Linked DNA regions of Homo sapiens: region 2 is linked to region 1. The links are contacts of gene promoters, found by promoter capture Hi-C in blood cells and fetal thymus (Javierre and others, 2016). All regions are on one chromosome and are shown on one strand. Each heading gives the region's core, a stretch centred on a gene start or on the middle of the fragment in contact. The rest is flanking DNA. Distances are from core to core; before and after follow the strand shown.

The links. Contacts are between HindIII fragments. The CHiCAGO score rates a contact against its expected background, and 5 or more counts as called.
Region 2: a fragment that was not itself captured here is called in contact with the fragment with the promoter of FBXO38 in region 1 in 1 of 17 cell types (megakaryocytes); the score reaches 6.5 in megakaryocytes.

Annotation. Positions count from the first base shown.
Region 1 is chr5:148,380,619-148,387,377 of GRCh38, reverse strand. It overlaps FBXO38 (F-box protein 38), which reads right to left and starts at 3,420. Exons shown (of 22, transcript NM_205836.3): 1 at 3,339-3,420. FBXO38-DT (FBXO38 divergent transcript) reads left to right here and starts at 3,528. Exons shown (of 5, transcript NR_105057.1): 1 at 3,528-3,879. RefSeq lists an enhancer at 3,444-3,643. The HindIII fragment of the contact is 17,680 bases long and covers 1-6,759 here.
Region 2 is chr5:147,854,174-147,860,932 of GRCh38, reverse strand. No RefSeq gene overlaps it. Among named protein-coding and RNA genes, the nearest start is that of SCGB3A2, 21 kb to the left of the region's middle. The HindIII fragment of the contact is 1,278 bases long and covers 2,770-4,047 here.

The DNA.
Region 1 (6,759 bases), core at 2,171-4,670:
AGAGCCTGAAGATGTGACTGAATTGCTGCAATCTCATGATAAAACTTGAACAGATGAGAAGTTGCTTCTTATAGATGAACAAAGAAAGTGGTTTGTTGAGATGAAATCTACTTCTGGTGAAGATGCTGTGAACATTATTGAAATGACAACAAAGGATTTAGAATACTACATAAACTCAGTTGATACGGCAGCACCAGGGTTTGAGAGAACTGAATGTAATTTTGAAAGAAGTTCTACTGTGAGTAAAATGCTATCATACATCGCATGTTACAACAAAATATTTCCTAGAAGGAAGAGCCAATCAATGAGGCAAACTTCACTGTTGTCCTAAGAAACTGCCAAGCCACCCCAATGTTCTGCAACCACCACCCTGATCAGTCAGCAGCCACCAAGACAGAGACAAGATCTTCCATTAACAAAAATATTATGACTCGCTGAAGGCTCAGATTAATTGTTAGCATTTTTTTTAAATTAAGTACTTTAAAATTATGGCGTATACATTACTTTAGATATAATGCTGTTGCACACTTGATAGATTATACTACATTGTAAAATATAACTTCTATATACACAGGGAAACCAAAAACTTTGTGACTTGCTTTATTGCAGTAGTCTGGAACCAAACCTGCAGTATCTCTGAGCTATGCCTGAATAAATAAGGAGGAGAGTATTATATATAAAGACTATACTTTGCGGTACCAGGTGTTACCTATAGGCTTAGCAACTTCTAGACCCTAAGACTCTGAACCTTAAGGAAATGTCAGAAATGACAGAATTACAGAATCCCAGAATGTTAAAAGTTGAAGAGGACCAGAGACACTACCTAATCACACAGTTCTCAATTTTTTGTGGGTCACAAACCCATCTGAGAATACGATGAAAGTGGCACATCCGTTTTCCAGACTCATGCAAGCAGAAATACATACACGATTTCAGGGGGTTCATATTCACAGACATCGAAGCTCATCTAGTGATCCCAAATTTTTAAGATGAACAAACAGAACCAGAGAGGATAAGGTGACAAATCACTTGCCCAAGATTAAATAGTGTCAAGGTTCAGGCTGGGATACAGACTTCCCAGGTTACAGTAAACATTCTATCATCAAGTCAGTCCTCTGTCACTGTGGTTGTCTTCCTGCATTCCAGAGCAATGCCCTAGTGCTTGGAGAAAGGCTTCTAGATGCTCTGATAGAACTGCATCTGACCACACCCTACCTTCACCAATTAGGATTTATGGTCCATTTAATTTAGGCTCCCATGCAGTGGTCTATGGCCACCTTTGGTATATTACAGTCACTCTGTGGCTGCCTGCTTAGCTGACCTTAGCCACAGGAAGCATTACTTTTGTCTTGGTGTTGCAAGCACATTCTTAAACCAGAGTTGTTTCCAAAAAGTGTTCTCCTATCTCGTCAATTCAAATCTCCTTCCCATCCCAAACTCAAATTACTTTTCTTTACCCTCGTGAAAAATACCCCCTCTCACTTGAAACTTCCCTATATTCTCAATGATCCTATCTGGTCAAGGGCTTCCCTGCCCTTCAAGTTTCTCATGCCTTTCTTTAGTTTCTATTGGTTTCAGCTTGCTCATATCAAAGTAATCTTGCATATCACTTAATTTGACCTCACAGACCTTAATTGACATCATAGACTATCTTGTGTATCTACTGACCAGGACAGCCTCTCTTGTCTAAAGAAATACCACACCACATAAACCAAACTGCTCAGATAAAAACCACACACAAACAAAACAAAACAAAAACCCCCCAACAGGATGATGGTGCTGAAAAAGGCCTAGGAATCATCCAGCTCAACCCTTCGTTTTACAGATAAGGAAAGTGAGGCCTAGAGATGTTAGATGGCTTGTCCAAAGTCACAGAGGCAGGATGTACCAGTGTGAAGCAGGGATACAGGTCTTCAACTCCTTTTTAATTTTATTTCACTATACCACCTTATTTCATTTTAGTATACCACCAATTTTACTTCACTATATCACCCTATCTTACTGGAATCTAGTTGTCCCTTTTTCTCCTCTGCTATGCATTAGTATCTGTTTGACTAAATATAAAGTGTGTACCTCTGGGCACACAGCCATTTAAACAAAGAGGCACACAAAACTCTACATTCTTTACCCAAGGAGGACATCAGAATTACAGCATCACATATTTTAAAGAGGGGAAAGAAGGCTTACAGATAATCTAAAATGTTAATTCTCAAAATGAAAGTTAAAAATTACAAGCGGATTTTTTTCAGTCTATGCCTATGTAATACATACCCTCCAGACTGGACCTCCTCCTTCCCTGGGAAAATCATGGCTTTATAGAACTATTATTTTATCCTTCACTTGTGCTGGGGGAATGGGAAAGGGGATTAAAAACCAGTGACCTAATCCAACGTCTTCCTTTAGCAGATAAAAAAATCTCAAGTTCAGAGAGAGGAAGGGATTTGGCCAAAGTAAACCATCAAGTTAATAGCAACTTTGGAACAAAAATCAAGGTCTCCTGTTTTTCACTTTGTAGTGATTTACACTGCTGGTTTAGGTGTATAAAACAAAGTTTTCTGGACAGAGCTTCTCATTGCACAGGAACCTTCCTAAGTGACCAGTTGCCCTTGGCCAGCTTGGTGTCTGCAAAGAAACACGGTAGACATCTCTTAGTCAAATTCTGGGTGTGCAGAGTGCAGGGAGAATATGCTTTTCAGGTCTGTAAAGACTCCATGAAAAGGGAGTTAAGAATCTGATTTCCACAGCTAGGGCACGGACATCAAAGGCATCCAACACAGATAAGCAAACTGCAGCACAGAAAAGCTAATGGACCTAGACAAGGTCACACGGTGTGTAGGTGGAAGGGGTGAAACTAGAATTCAGGGCTCCTGATACTCAGGCGTGGCAGCCAAAGATGTGTTCACTGCTTCCTGCTCAGGGACATCTCCTCACTACGCTGAACACAGACCTCCTTCACTTTACTGGCCGAAACACCGACTTAACATTAAAATCATGAAATTCGTGACGCCCGGGGTGGGAGACAGTCACAGAAGCTGTCCAGTCCAACACCCTCACCCATTTCATTGAGGAAACTGGGGCCCAGAGAGAGTTCTTTATGCTGGATTTTGGGGCCAGGTTCAGACAAGCAGGCAACCCCCGCAAGCACGGCCTAGAAGGCCAGGAACTACAAATTCAACCCCTGATCTCTCAAGGAGCTCTAGGCCCCAAGGGGGCCAGAGGCCGAGCTTAAGCGGTCGGAAGTTCCAGAATCCCCACCCAGCTACCTCAGCCCTGCCGCACGCACTCCGGGCTTTGCCACCCCGCTCCCGGTCCCCAGGCCCACTCAGCCGCCGCCTCACCTACGCCGACCCTCCGCCTGTTATTGTGGTTGAGAGGGAGGGACGCTACAGACACTTCCCCGGCCCCTACCGCTGAGGCACTTCCGCTTCCGCCGCCGCTCGCATATTTCCGGAGTGTTGTCATCCGGGGCTGGAGCCTCAAACCCGTGTCCATATTGTGTGTGTGAAGAAGCATCGAAGCGCGGCAGCCATGTTCAGCGTGGCATTTCGGAAGGCTTGTCAGGGGTGGAGAAGCGGGGCGGGTTGCTGTTCTTTCACCTGACACTAAAGCGCCATGCCGGAAGCACTGAGTCTGATACGTCGGAACCAGTCTCCACCGTGTGGTTTGGTCTTGATTTCCACTGGTACTCTGGGGTCTTGGATAAGTCTCTGGACCTCGCCTTTGTCATTTGCGAAGTCGATAGGTTCCAATAGAGATTTTCCCAGAATCATTCAACTAAAAATAGAGAACTTTTTTTTTTTGAGAGGAAGGACGGGGGCGCAGTTAAAGATGTTAATGTTAAGTCATCCCTTCTGTGATTTCGGGACATTATCTTTGCACGTAAGTAATAGTATTTTACAGTCCAAAGGAATTTCACATGAGTGTCATTAAAAACTCTACACGACTCTGACATGTAGGCAAGGATCAACTTAATCACCTTTTCTGTTGTTTAATGGATAAGGAATTGTCTTCAGAGAGTGTAATTGATTTTCACAATGTCTCGCAGATGGACTGAAATTCAGATTTTTACCTTTTACATCCTGTGTTCTTGCCCTAATATACATGTAATTAATATGGGCTAAAATCCCTAGATTTAAATAGATACAAATACTTCTTAGGAAAGTTAGTGTGCATTAAAGCCATGTGAGACACAATTTGACAAGACGTAGCATTGACTAGGCTATTCTGCTGGAGAAGAAAAAGCTGAAGAAGGCTTGGGAATCCCATTTCTTCTTATTCTTTTCTTGATTGATAGCAGACCTACTGGTTTTTCCCCTCTTTCCCCAATATGGTTCGGCACCTTAGGTTTCAGCTTGTCTTAGGCAGTCACAGTTTTAGCTATCCCATTCCGTATGTCAAACCATATATCTGTGTTTTTATTTGGAGCTCTGGTAGGACAAACAAAACAAAACCTCATCATATTCATGTACTATTCATTGTAATCTCAGCTTTCATGTTACATTCTTCCTGTAATTGAAGACAAAAATGAATTTTTATGCTATTTGCTTCTGTCGGTTTCTTCATATTCAAACTTTAATAAAGGAAACAGACTTTAGCTTTTTCTGTTTCCCAGGTTATTCTGAAGAATAAATAGGAATTACGAAAGTTTCTAGTGCAGGGCATGGCATATTTAGAAGGCATTCAGTAAGATTTATTTCAGCACAATTGGCCTGAATTTTTAATTCAATGGAATATGATTTTCATTTTATTAGCATTCCTCCTTTTGTAAAAAGCACTGTAGTGGGACCTGAAATGAATACTCATGAGTAAGAAAGGTTTCCTACCTCAAGTTTAGAAAATTTCCTACCACAAATCATTGTAATAAATGTTAAAGATATTTTCTCACTGCTATGAGTGTTATATATAATAAGATATCAAAACTAGTTTTAACATTTTCAGGTAGAGCATGTTATATGTATCCCTTCATCTCTAGGATTTATTTGTACCTTGATGTTACAGGTTTTCATTAAAAAGGTCCTGAGTTAGTATTTCTCCTGTACAGTGGCACCATCATGGGGTCCCTGAGCGCTGCAGGAAAGTTTGCCCTACAGTAAATGACCTTAAACCGCTGTGTTGTTTTAATTTTCAATCCCCACTTTTTAATTAAATTCTAAAGTATCTCTTTTCATTCTTCCATGAGTTCTAGTATCAGCCCGTGTTCTTCCTTGAAATTCCTTAGGTACCTAAACAACAGATAATCCCTTTGTTAAAATGATGACTAATACTCAAGAGAAGTTTTGGTCAGGGATAGTGGTTGGAGTTTGCTCAGGACAGGTTCATATGGCTATGGAGCCTGTTCAGTGCACAACTGCAGAAGGTGCTATGCATATCAAGGCTATTCTTAACTACCCTTAGACTTGGCGTATATGGCAGAACTCCACTATGAATTCAAATACAGGATTTTTTTTGAAGGTAAAAAGGAAAAAAAAAAACTATTGTAGCTGTTTTGACTGAGAAGTTGTGTATTTAGTAGTCAGCAATGCAGGCTTTAGAACCAGAAAGACTTGGTTAACTGTGAGTTCCTCTGCTTACTGGCAGAGAGACAATGGGCAATCACTTCAGCTCTAAGGTTCAGGTTTCTTTAAAATAGACATTATGGTACCTACGTAACAAGTCACTCCAGAATTTAGTGGCTAAAAATTTTATCTGCCCTGATTCTGTAGGGTAACTGGGTTAGGCTGGGCAGTCCTAGCTTGCAGTCTCTGGCATTTACAGTCAGATATCAAACTGGGGCTGTAGTTAATGTCAGCCTCTAATAGATGTTATATTGATGGCAGTTGAGGCTGGCTGATCTCTAGATGCTCAGTTGGAGCTATTTATCAGAGTGCCTACACTTGGGCTTTCCCTCTGATTTGGGTTTCTTATACCGTGGTGTTTGGGTTTTGACAGGGAGCACTTGGAGGTAGAATGGGAAAAAAGGGAGCTGTTCCAAGCAAAACAGGAGGAAGCTACAAAACTTCATATAATGTAGCCTCTGCAGTCCCAGGAGTGACTTCCATCACGTCGTGTTAGGTCAAAAAAGCCACTAAGCCAGCCCAGATTCAAGAGAAGAATAAGAGTCCACCTCTTAATTGAAGATGTAGCAAAGACTTTGTGGCCATCTGTAATTTACCACACTACCTCATTGTTTTTAATTTTTAGATTTTTGGATGTATGAATATTAGCACAAGCATCAAAAAGTAAGGCTTGTAGTCCCTCCAGCCCAGTCTTGCATTTGTGCATGAATAATGTCATACATTATTTTTTAAGAAAAATTGTGGCAAAATATATATATTTGTCATTTTAACCTCTTTAAGTATACAGTTCAGTGGAATTATGCACATTCACATTATTGTGCAAACACCACCGCCGCCAATCATCATAACTTTTCTATCTTCCCAAACTGAAACTCTTTAAACAACAATTCCCTATGCTCTCCTTCCCCCAGTCCCTGGCAGCCACCATTCTACTTTTTGACTCTATGATTTTGACCACTCTAGGTACTCATATAAGTGGAATCATAACAATATTTGTCATTTTATGTCTGAATTTTTTCACTTAGCATAATATCTTCAGGGTTCATCCATGTTGTAGCATGTATTTAGAATTTAATTCCTTTTTAAATCTGAATAATGTTCCACTGCATATATATTTCACATTTTGTTTATCAATTCATTCTTTATGTTATTTATTTGTTGTTTATTTTTCATTGTGATTAAAAACACATAACATAAAATTTAC
Region 2 (6,759 bases), core at 2,159-4,658, 530 kb after region 1:
TAATTATCAAATCCAATTCAATCCTGGACTCAGTCCAGCCTAACTATTGCTCAAATAAACACATAGAGCTCAGAACACAAGTTGGTGGAGCTCGGAATCTGAGAGCAAACTCACCCATGACCTCCAGCTACAATCAAGAGAGCAGTGAGCACAATAGTCTCCTCAGGTACCTCACCTGGTCACCTGGTGTTCCTGGGGGTTGCTGGAGTTTTACTTTTAATCCCACTCTGACACCAGATCTGTTAAAAGAAAACTTTAGACAAATTAAATTTAACAGTTTAATTGAGCAAGGGAAAAAAAAAGAAAAAAATTGGGCAGCCTCCAGAATCACAGCAGATTCAGAGTGACTCCAGGGATGCCTCACGGTCAGAACAATAAAAGGAAAGTGATGTATAAAAAAACAGAGGTGAGGTACAGAAACAGATGGATTGGTTACAGCTTGGTGCATGTCTTATTTGAGCATAGTTTGAACAGTCAGCGGCATATGAGTGGTTAAGTATAGCTTCTGGGATTGGCTGAGACTCACCTATTGTTACAGAAGCATACTTCAGTCTTGTCTACCTACTAAGGTGGTTATAGTTCATCCACAAGGATTCAAATATGGAAGTATGGAGGCTTTCTCAGGCCATATTTAGTTTGATTTAACAACATGCGCTATGATTCTTTTGGTAGTACAGGGTGGAGGAGGCCTTTTTACTGAGGTGTGTGGGCTCCTGACAAGCTTGATGTTTGCTAAACACTGTCTCCAGCTTCTCCACATCTTTCTAGGGTTGAGGCTGCTCTTTTGTGCTTTCAGTGCCCTTGTTCTTTGTTTAGTGACAAAGAGCACAGGTCCTGAAGCCAGCCTGTCTGTATTCATGGCACAGCTTTTCCAATGGGGAAGTTATTTACCTTGCTGGGCCTCAGTTTTACCAACTATTTTATAGTTGGGCTAACAAACTTCCTTCCTTCTAAGGGTGTTATAAGTAATAAGTTAACATATGCAAAATGCTTACAAAAATTAGTACCTGGGAATGAACACTCAAGATACGTTACACTATTATTATTATTATCCCCTCTCTATCTTTACTTTTAGCTATCCAGCTTCATAATTATAACCTCAGTCAGAGCAGCCACAATCACCAAGCTCATGAACTACTTCTCAACACTTTAATTTTGAGTGATGTTTGGGGAGTTTTATTTGTAATTTCTCTTTGAAGAATTTTACCTTTCTTTAGCTTGTACACAGAATAGAAGTAGGAGAATGGATAATCACTGCATCCAGTGAACAAATTATAAGATTTTTTTTGGTATAAGATTTTAAATTTGAGACAATTTCAAACTTACAGAAAAGATTTGAATACAGTACATAGAACTCTTTTTTTCAGAACCATTGGAGAGTAAATTGCTAGCCAATGTCCTATCACTCACAAATACTTCAGTGTGTGTTAAAGGGTTATTAATGCTGCCATATACGTTTGTGTGGATTAAGTGAGATGATGTATGTGCAAACCCTTGGTTTACAGTTAAGTATTGTATTAATGAAATCATGTTTGTCATTCCATCAAGTCTAGAAAAATTCAGGATTTATTTTTTGGCTGTCAGAAAAAACTGAGGAACTGGGGAAAAAGTCACAGGCTCTATTTCAGTGGTCTTTCTTTTTAAGTCAAGATAAGCAACAACAGCTCTGGTCTCAAATCATTTCAAATATCACAGGTTATGAAAATATGGCTGAAAAAATATGTTACTATGAAAATGTGCCATCAAAATCAAATAAGAAAAAAATCTATTTTACAGGTTATTAGTCACAGTCAACACATTCTATTTAGATCTGAACTCAACCCAGTGAGATCATTTGCAACCTGGACCTCTCAGTTGTCTAATGCCATATAACAAAATACTCCAAAATTCAGTGGTTCAAAACAAGCACAGTGTACTTTTTTCATGATTCTTTAAAAATACCATATAGCTGCTTCACCTGTTTCATTGATTGATGTTTACTGGGGCACTGGGATGGCTGGAGAGCCAGAATACTGGCATTTTGTGATTGGCTTTGGCTATGAGCTCAGTGGAGGCAGTTTGCAAAGCATCTGGTAATTCATGAGTTCCAGGAAAATGCATTCCAAGATATGAAAATTAAAACCCTAGATGTCCTAATGTTTAGCCTCAAAAGACACATGGCATCTCTTCAGCCACATTCTATTATTCAAATGAAGCCATAGGACGTGCCCAGTGCCAAGAGGAGAGAAAATAAACTCTACTTCTTGGTAGGAGGAATTGCAAAGAATGTGTGGTCATATTTAATTCACAACAAACCCATAATAAGAAGATTATCCAGGCTTTTGAAGGATCATATGAGAGACAGTTAATAAACTTGGTGACACCAGCCTGGAGAGAAGATAAACCAAGAAACCCTTAAGAGATTGTTCAGATATTTGGAGGGCTATCATCATGAAGCAAAAATAGATATGAATTTAGGATTGAATTTGAGAGGTTTTTGAAATGTGACTACAAATTACAAGAAAATAAAGTTTAATGGCTCCATACTGAATCCTACAAATAAAGGTTAGCTAATACCAAATTTACTGTGGAAAAGGCTCTTGTAATAGATAAGAATAGATGAGATTATCTTCATTACACTTTCCAAGTCTATGAGGTTGGTGCAAAGGTAATTAATTTTGCACCATAATATCATCATATGACTCCAACAGCCTCCTTAACCTAAGATTTAATTCAAGAAGAAGACACTTAAAACTGCAATAAACAAAGCACTTTAAACCTTATTAAGCTTCTCACATATCATTTCTGGGACTCTATCACAAAAAGTATCAAATTCAATAAATGTTGATGCACACATTATTTTCCCCCATGGGTCTCAATATTTTAAGGTTTTGACTGTCAAATCTATAATAATCTAAGTCAAAAGTACAGCTACTTAAGCCTCAACACTAATTAAAATATTTAAAACATTTCTTTTTTTGAAATGTTTAAAATCATTCACAATGCTTCAATATTTTAAAGAGTTACACTATCACAGGTCCTGAGATCTGGAATCTTTGGAATGACAATATGGATTAGATTATGTCTGATATGACTTCAGCTTCATTTTCTTTCTTTCAGGGTGGAATTATTAAAGTTCAAACCATGGGAAACTATGAATGTTTGTGGAATGCGATGTTGAACAAGAGTAACTTTCAAAGTGGTGCACAAATGCCCTCTTGTGGCCATTTCCGGGATTGTGCTACAGTTTACAAAACAAAAGCAACCTAACAGGCAATGTTAGTGATGGCCATCTTTGTGCCACATCCTGTGCTAGAAGAAAATAATGAATTGAAAAAGGAAAAAAAATATATGTTTAAAGAGGAGGAAGAAATATTGTTTTTAGTTTTTGTTTTACTTCTCAGATGATAAGCCAGCTAAAAGAAATACTACCTCAAATGCTGCAGAAGGCTTAGGACCTTTTATATTGAATTTGGGGGTATGGAGAAACTCAGAGGCTTAGAAACTTTTATATTGGATTTGGGAATATGGAGAATTTAAGAGTAAAGACAAAGTACTCAAATTGGCTGATGTACCTTGAAGACCTGGAGGCCTCTAATCTTAGGAGATTTCATAGCATCCCCTAAATATTCAGCAGTATAGGGGGGATCATCAGGATCCTTCTGTCACACTAGGATTTTGATAAATCAACAGACATTTAGGTCGACACAGGCTGCTACTCAGCCCTCCTTGCATTCCTTAGTCCATGAGTGCCAACTCCAGAAATTCCAACATATTGTCATCAAAAATTGTGGAAAGCATTTAGAAAGGACAGAACTAAGTTTATGTCCTGGACAGAAACTTAGAAAGCAGCACTAATAATAAGATGTACAGGTCACATTTGGATGCCTAAGGTCAACCATTGTCACCTCCTCAACACAACCAGAAGTGTTTCCAAGAATCTCCAAAGTGGTGCCATAGCTAAATGTAATACTATTTAGGTCTTGCCTAGCACAGAGCAGAGCAGGTCTATCAGCTTCTTTGAAGAAGACATCAGAGTTTATTAATGGCCCCAGATCACATTAAGCTTTTTTAGTTCAGAGAATGGCTGCCAGAATCAAGTTCTAACACATCATAAACAATATTAAAATATCAGACTAACAAAAAGTAGCTTAAAAGAATAAAATTGTATTGGTGTGTGAATATGCATCAGACAAGCCTAGTACTGGCTTGGCCTAAGAGTATTTATTTGACCCCAAGTTTATTTTCATTTTACCTATTGGAATAATTACAAAACCTGCTACCATCTATTAACACAACTTTCCTATAAGGCTGTGCTTTAAAAGTTTATCTTTCTTCCATGGTCTTCTGCTGGAAGGTAGAAGAGTCAGAAGAGATAAGAGATAATAAATACTTAGGCATCTAAGTATTTACCAACATATTTTGTTTTTTAAGAGTTCTGGATGAAAGTTCAATTCAAAGATATATGACCCCTTGGGTGTGTAATCATGGCCATTATGATGATATAATGGAAGAGGCTTTGTACCAGAGTCCCTGCATATCCAAAAGGGATACATTCCAAGACCCCCAGTGGATGCCTGAAACCTCGAATAGTTCTGAACTTTATATATACTGTTTCTCCTACACATTCTTATCCATGATAATGTTTAATTTATAAATTAGGCACAGTAAAAGATTAACAACAACAGCTAATAATAAAATAGAGCAACTATAACAACGTACTGAAATAAAAGTTATCATGCACTGTGGCTGTAACTTTTGCAGCTTGAAGTGTGACAGAAAAACTAGCACAATTTTTTCTTCTTCATAGTTTCACAGATAAAGTATTTGTTCTTACTATAGATCTTAACCACTTCAGCATATTATTTTTTTCTTTCCTTATTAAGTCAAGAACTTTTATATTTTCACTTAAAGGAAGCACTTCGTGGCTTCTCTTTGGCATTTCCAAATTGCCAGCATCACTGCTCTTGTACTCTGGGGCCATTACAAAATAAAATATGGGTGACTTGAACATAATCACTGTGATACTGAGACAGTCAGTGTGATAACCGAGTTGGCTGCCAAGTGAGTAACAGGCAAGCAGCATCCACAGCACGGGTACTCCAGACAAAGGGACAAGTCATGTCCCTGGGCATGAGATTTCATCGTGCTACTCAGAGCAGTGTGAAATTTAAAACTTATGAGTTGTATATTTCTGAAATTTTTCGTGTAATATTTTTGAACTCCAGTTGACCATGGGTAACTGAAACCGAGAAAAGCAAACTGGGGATCAAAAAGGCTACTGTACACTAGAGATTGTTCTGAGCTATTGTTAACAGGAATGTGCCAGGTTTATGTAAATATATTTCATTTAATACTTAAATTCAGATTTACGTTCATATATTTGTATTCAACATTTACCTCCAACACTATCCTTTCCCCTGTCTTGCAATTTTAAAACTTCACTCACTCTTTGTTCCTCCCACAAAGTTGCCCCTCTCATCATTGAGGAAGCATCCACTTCTGACTTTCTGCACATGGGGGAGATCCCTCACCATCACAACCAAGCCATAAACAGACAGGAGCTCTCTGAGCATCAGTTTTCTCATCTACCACAGTGTCCCATGCGGACGGCCTTTCCAAATACTATTTAATAATATTGCATCCTAATAATGTCCAACTATTTTAAACCAAATCGTAAATCACACATTTGTATTATGCTTTCTGGTTGTCCAATTACCTTTATTTACTGGGTTTATTTAAGCTTCAGAGGAATATATACGGATTTTATAGCTAAAGCTCAATTAGATTAAGCTCATTTTACAGACTGGTCTCACAGTTTAGACTCAACACTAAGCCTACAAAGTTCAATCATCTCATTGCCGTCTGTGATTAAGCAACCACCCTTTCCGTTTCCACAGGGGATCCTCTGACGTGGTTTTTACAAAATCCTATCATCACACCCTTCTGATTCCAAAGTACAGAATAGTGAAGGGGTTAAACCTGCTCTATAATAAGCACTCCATAAATATTAGCTGTTGCTGTTGTAATTAACGTCAAGCTTTACTATGCTCATGCACTTTTAAATTGTCTTTATATTTGTTTCAAAATCTTAGACATAAATTTCATCAAAGATGAGGTCACATTTCCTAAAGTCTTAATTATCCGGACCAGTGATCACTGAACTTCAAGGCCCTGATGAATAAAAATTGTTTGTATCCCAAGCTCCCTCCCTAAAAGAATTCTAGGCGTTTAGACAAACCTCAACACGAGCCCCCAGGTTCCTCCTTTCGACTGTATTACTTAGGTCCTAGCACAGAGACTTCACCAGTCTGATAACTGACACAGATGCCTTCAGAGTCCCTTGGCCCCATAGATTCAAAAGCCTCCAAAATGGATTTGGCTGCTATAAAACCCCAGCAGGGAAGCAGAGCTCCAAGCTGGTGAAGGTGAGTGTGTGGGGTTCCACTACTGAGAGAGGCATAGGCAGGTTTCACAGTTGTCTGGGGGTGGCCATTTGGGGCCAGATGAAGGGTGAAAAGTTGGGAAGAGATTGTGCAAGAAGAGGAAAACTTCACTTAAATAAGTAAGCATCTAAAACAAGGGAAATAACTGGTTCCTTCAAGAAAAAGGATTCTGCTTTATATAACTCTTGATTCTATAATTTATACTCACAGGTATCATCTCATTGAATCTTTATCCTTTATCAGCACTATAATAATTAAACAAGTGTTTATGGAATGTTAATATAAATCAAATGTGGTGCATGAAACAAAAATTAGGATAGTAATGATGGTATCA